2 separate regions of the Homo sapiens genome follow, and region 1 is linked to region 2. The links are contacts of gene promoters, found by promoter capture Hi-C in blood cells and fetal thymus (Javierre and others, 2016). All regions are on one chromosome and are shown on one strand. The core of a region is centred on a gene start or on the middle of the fragment in contact, and the rest is flanking DNA. Distances in the headings are between cores, read along the strand shown.

What was found. Contacts are between HindIII fragments. The CHiCAGO score rates a contact against its expected background, and 5 or more counts as called.
Region 1: a contact is called between the fragment with the promoter of ZNF347 here and the fragment with the promoter of ZNF613 in region 2, in 4 of 17 cell types (non-activated CD4 T cells, naive CD8 T cells, naive CD4 T cells and 1 more). The highest score is 8.7, in non-activated CD4 T cells.

The regions. Positions count from the first base shown.
Region 1 is chr19:53,157,626-53,160,325 of GRCh38, reverse strand. ZNF347 (zinc finger protein 347) reads left to right here and starts at 1,273. Exons shown (of 5, transcript NM_032584.3): 1 at 1,273-1,317. RefSeq lists a silencer at 1,091-1,340 and an enhancer at 1,076-1,370. The HindIII fragment of the contact is 5,586 bases long and covers 1-2,700 here.
Region 2 is chr19:51,926,200-51,928,899 of GRCh38, reverse strand. ZNF613 (zinc finger protein 613) reads right to left here and starts at 1,428. Exons shown (of 6, transcript NM_001031721.4): 1 at 1,360-1,428. RefSeq lists enhancers at 1,490-1,789, 1,645-2,408. The HindIII fragment of the contact is 2,177 bases long and covers 537-2,700 here.

The sequences.
Region 1 (2,700 bases), core at 24-2,523, 1.2 Mb before region 2:
TATAAACTAGGTTCTCTATAAACATGAAAAAAGGGTATCCCTGTGAGTCTTTAGTTCAGTCAATGTACTGGGATGGTACGTTAGAAATACTGGAAAACTATTCTTTAGGCGAAAATAAATCCAATTGTCATGTGGTGACTATTTTCCACACTCTGTTATCCACATCTGATAGAACATTAAGAAACAGAAAACAAAAAAATAGACCCAATATAGATTACAATTTTAAAATAAAAAGTACTGTGTCAAGTTCCCTTCAGAATGCCCATAAAGTGAATTTGAAATTACATGATATTTAGAAATTATTGATTTAAGCATATTTTGATGCAAAGAAAGATTATGTCAAAGTTGTTTGTGGTTAAGTCATTTCAAGTGTGGAACGGAATAACGAATATAAGCAAAAATAATGCAGTTTATCTCTATTTTTTAAAAATTCACATGGTTTAAATCAGTAGTTGACTGGGCACAGTAGTTCACTCCTGTAATCCCAGCAATTTTGGAGGCCCAGGCAGGAGGATTGCTTGAGGTCAAGAGTTGGAGACCAGCCTGGGCCGAGACTCCCATCTTTACAAAAATATATGTTTTAAAGAACAATAAAGCAGCCCTTGGTGATCTAACTTATCGGCCTTAACCTTCCCATGAATTGAGCACAGGCTTGACTCTTCCACTGGGGAGAATGGGGATTTGAAATGTAAAGGAGGTTCTGTTGGGCTACTGCATTAAATTGCATATCCGTCCAGGTAGGATGCTGCATTTCCCATTCTACTTTGAATCATCCTCAGAGATAATTTCCAGACATTTTAGTTAAATTAAATACATTTTAATTGCAGGAATTGCTGGATCCAATCGCCGTGCCTCGTGGATCCTCCACTAAGATCCCAGTTCCCAGACCGAGATCCCCGATTCCCAGATCCCCGTTCCTGAGCTGCAGCAGACTCCCTAGCAGGACTGGGTCCAACCCGCCGGCAAACAATTTTAACATAAACCGTTTTCAACTTGGTAAGAGGAAATCATTTTGGTTTCTATCATAAGTGGTCCACGTAAGTCTATTCTTTCACCTTAAAACTGCTTCAAATTGGAACGGTGCTCCCGGGGACATAGTGAACACTCCAGCGTTTCTAAACCGGGAAAAATGAGACTGCGGGCTAGGCAGGCTGAGGGAAGCGCAGACCCCGCCCCAGCTCCGCCCCAGCGTTTCGTCCGCAGACCCCGCCTCTCCCCAGGCCCCGCCCCCAGAGTGCCCGGGCTCTTTTCCGCGCACGCGCAGTTTTCTGCAGTTCCGGAAGCGGATCGTGTTGGGTGCGGGTGACGCCGCCGAGCGTGAGTGTCCCTCAGTATGGATTAAACTTGCGAACCGCCGTGCCCCGTTTCCGCAGCCAGTTCCCGGGCTCGCTACAGACCTTTTTTTTTTTCTTTTTTTTTTTTTTTGGTGAGACGGAGATTTACTCTTGTTGTCCAGGCTGGAGTGCAATGGCGCGATTTCGGCTCACCGCATCCTCCGCCTCCCAGGTTCAAGCGATTCTCCTGCCTCAGCCTCCCGAGTAGCTGGGATTACAGGCATGTGCCACCACGCCCGGCTAATTTTGTATTTTTAGTAGAGACGGGGTTTCACCGTGTTGCCCAGGCTGATCTCGAACTCCTGACCTCAGGTAATCCGCCCGCCTCGGCCTCCCAAAGTGCTGGGGTTACAAGCGTGAGCCACTGCGCCCGGCAGCTACAGACCTTAAGATCCCCGCACCGCGCCCTCCACCCCAGCTGACTCGCGGTGTGGGTTCGGAGTCGCTTCTCTTTGGGTTGAAGTAGCTCTGAGGCTTCTCCCTGTCCCCGGCCTTTCGCGTCTTCCTCCCGCTTAAAACCCTTTCCTGACCCCTCCTCCCGCCCCGGGCTTTTTAAAGTCCTCGCCCGCGAGGTGGATTCCCGCCCTGGGTGCCTCCCAGCCTCGCCCTCGTCGGCCCCTGGAGCGCAGCTCCTCAGCCCCGGTACCGGCGAGGCCGCGTCCTCTGCCTGGTCCTGGCATCCTGCAGACCCCACCCCTCTTCTAAGGCGCCGTCGCCCCGCCACCTCCCTCCTCCTCGTGCCGGGCCCTGCTGCTCCCCAGGCCTCCCCTTCGCAGTCCCCGCTTCTCCTGAGCCCGCGCTGGGGAGGTGCCCGGGGCCTGTCCTGTGACACCCGGTGTTCTTGCCTGCCCAGCTCCAGCCCCTGGAAAATGCGCTCCTCCAAGATGCAGGCGTCTTAGTCCAAACCTTCCTGTGAATGTGTGGACCAAGGGGATTAGCAGGTAGAGAAAGGGGCAGAGACAGAGAGAGAAGTAGAAAAACTGAGAGGAAAGAGTGAGGGAAACCCGTAACCAGATGGCAAAGTAGAGGATGGGCGAGGGATTTGCAGATGGTAAGAGAAGGAGCTGAGAAGGCAGAAGGAGAAAAGCAACTGGGGAAATGTAGAGAAAAGCTCGATGTCCAGAGACATGAAGGACAGCAAGGTAGGGAGAGGGCCAGAAAGTGGGAGGCTCCTCAGACAGAGTCCGGGAGAGGAGGAGGGATTTGGAGCCAGGGCAGACAAGCAGCGTGGTGCTGGGACAGCAAGAGGGGACAGCCGGTGACGAGGAGAGCAGAAGGAGAACCACAGCAGGGGGAGGCCTGGGATCTGGGGGTGCCAGAGAGTGGGGCAAGAGGTGTAGAAGGGAAGAGGAGATTCAACAGAGGG
Region 2 (2,700 bases), core at 179-2,678:
TTTTCCTTTTTCTTTTCTCCTTTTCTTTTCTTTTTTTTTTTTTTTTGAGGCAGGGTCTCACTCTGTTGCCCAGGCTGGAGTGCAGTGCTCAATCATAGTTCACTGCAGCCTAGAACTCCCGGGGTCACGTGATCGTCCCACCTCAGCCTCCCGAGTAGCTGAGACTACAGGCGTGTGTTACCACACCCAGTTAATATTTGTATTTTTTGGAGAGACAGGCTATGTTGTTCAGGCTGATCTCCAACTTCTAGGCTCGAGCAATTCGCCCACTTTGGCCTCCCAAATGCTGGGAATATAGGCGTGAGCCACCGCGCCAGGCCACCTTACCATTTTAGATTTGATTAATCTTTGATCTTCCCCAAAGCTTTCCTATTTACCAGGATGAGAGAAAGGAGAGATGTGAGAAGTCAAATGAGATTTGTAAACCAGTCCTTGCAGAGAAACTTAAAAGGGACTGAGAGGGAATGTACCGTTGGACCTGAACACACACACCAATCAGGATGCCCTGGCTGCCAAGGCTTCAGCCTTCACAAGCTTCTCCACGACTGTCACATCTAGACCTCCCTAACATGGTCACACCCCCTTAGATTAATCCAAAAACCTGGACCACACACCTAGGTTCACATGAACCCGGGCTCCTCCTCACTGAGTCGCATATTAAATCCTGATTACAGCCTGGAGCGAAGGCTCACGCCCGTAATCCCAGCACTTTGGGAGGCCAAGGTGAGAGGATCGTTTGAGGCCAGGAGTTGGAGACCAGCCTGGGCAACATAGTGAGACCCCCGTCTCTGCAATAAACAGATAGATTAGATAGATAAATTAGATAGATAGATAGATAGATAGATAGATTAGATTAGACAGATTAGATAGATAGATAGATAGATAGATAGCGTGGTGGCGCTCACCTGTAGTCCCAGCTACTCGGGAAAGCTGAGGTGGGAAAATCACCTGAGCCCCGGGAGATGGAGGCTGCAGTGAGCCACGATTGCGCCACTGCACTCAAGCCTGTGTGACAGAGCGAGACCCTGTCTCAAAAATAAAAAATAAAACCCCGAATCCGAAGCAGACACAGTTTTCCTTGACAAAAACCACTCCTCACTCCAGTCCTCAATCACCGAGCCCTACAGAGTGACCCGCAAAGGCACCAAACCCTGATCACGGACTTCCAAGTGTTGCTCTGGACAGACTCTGACCACCGACCACTGGGATCCCTCAGGGCTGACTCCGGAGACGCCCCAACCCCAATACCCCGACTCCCACTTGCTCCCGCTTCCCCCACAAACTCCACGGCTCCGCACTAAACGGACGCCCACAGACACCCTCCTCCCCTCATCCTGACAGACAGACCCACACACAGACCTGATTTTGCGGGGAACCCACCGAGACTTCCCAGAACCTGCACTTTCCTGAATTATTCCACTTCTGGGCCCTCCCCCAGCCTCCAAGCCGGCCTACGGCGGCCGAGGAAGGTCTGAAGTTGCAGGTGTACGGAGCACGGACGACTGGGAGGTAGTAAGTTCGCGTCCTCTCGTCACGGATACTGGAGGCAGCCATCTTTGAATCCTGCACGTACGGAAGGTAAAGTGGACCTTTTCTGCCCAAGTATTCAGGGATAGCGCGGGACGGTGAAGAACTCCATATTTTGGCACCTAAATCCTGCGCCCAAGTTTCATTTATTTTCAGAGGGTCGAGCTTAGCCAAGACAAACATGGTATGGCTACGTGCACCTTAGCGGGCTGGGGAGAAAAGTCATCCGCTTTGCACAAAGAATGACGGGAATGACACAATGGGCGCGGCCATCTTAACACTTAGGTGTCCGTACAAGTGAAAACGCTTTCTCCACAGAGGAAAAAGAGCAATCGCACCCTGAGTCATATACCGCGAAAACGCATCTAGCTACATGTGGAGGACAAGAGGAAGATTTTTGAGGACCAAAAGGGTGTGGAGAGGCAATCGAGGTACGAGGATATTGTTCACCCCGTCAACGGAAAGTGAAAAAACAGCGACCCCTGGAACCTCATTTACATTTGAGGGACACGGTCACCGCCCAGTGCAGGTAAAGAGAGCAGCCACCAGCCAACCGGAAAAGGAATCCAATGCGGGAGGCGGGAATTTTCCTTAAGAGAGAAGAAGGGCCTTCCCTCTGCTGTAGGTGGAGTCAATCTTAACGTCGGGGCTTTCGGAGAACCAAGTGCCTAAAATTCTGGAAGGAATAAATAAGGCGACTCTGGGAGAATGAAAAGTTGTGCAAGCCCGGGCGCGATGGCGCACACGTGTAGTCCCAGCTACTGGGGAGACCAAGGCAGGAAGATCGCTTGAGCCCAGGAGTTCCAGGCTGCAGTGAGCTATGATCGCACCTATCAATAGCCACTGCACTACACAGCCTTGGCAACCCCTTCATGAGGAAAAAAAGAAAAAAGAAAAAAAAAAGTTGTGCAAGAAAAGTAATCATAGGATACTACCTGACTGACCTATAAATATTATTTACATAGTCATCATAACGTAAATTCTAATTCTGATCCAACCTAAATTAAGACAATTCCATTGGAAGAATGAGAAGGAAATTCCTGCATGCAGTGGAGTGTTTATATTTATAACAGAGTTTTCACGTGTCCTTCATGATACATCTATAGAAAATGCCCCAAAATGCAAACTCCATTTCAGAAACATACCGTGTTACTTAAAATATCAAATCTGTGA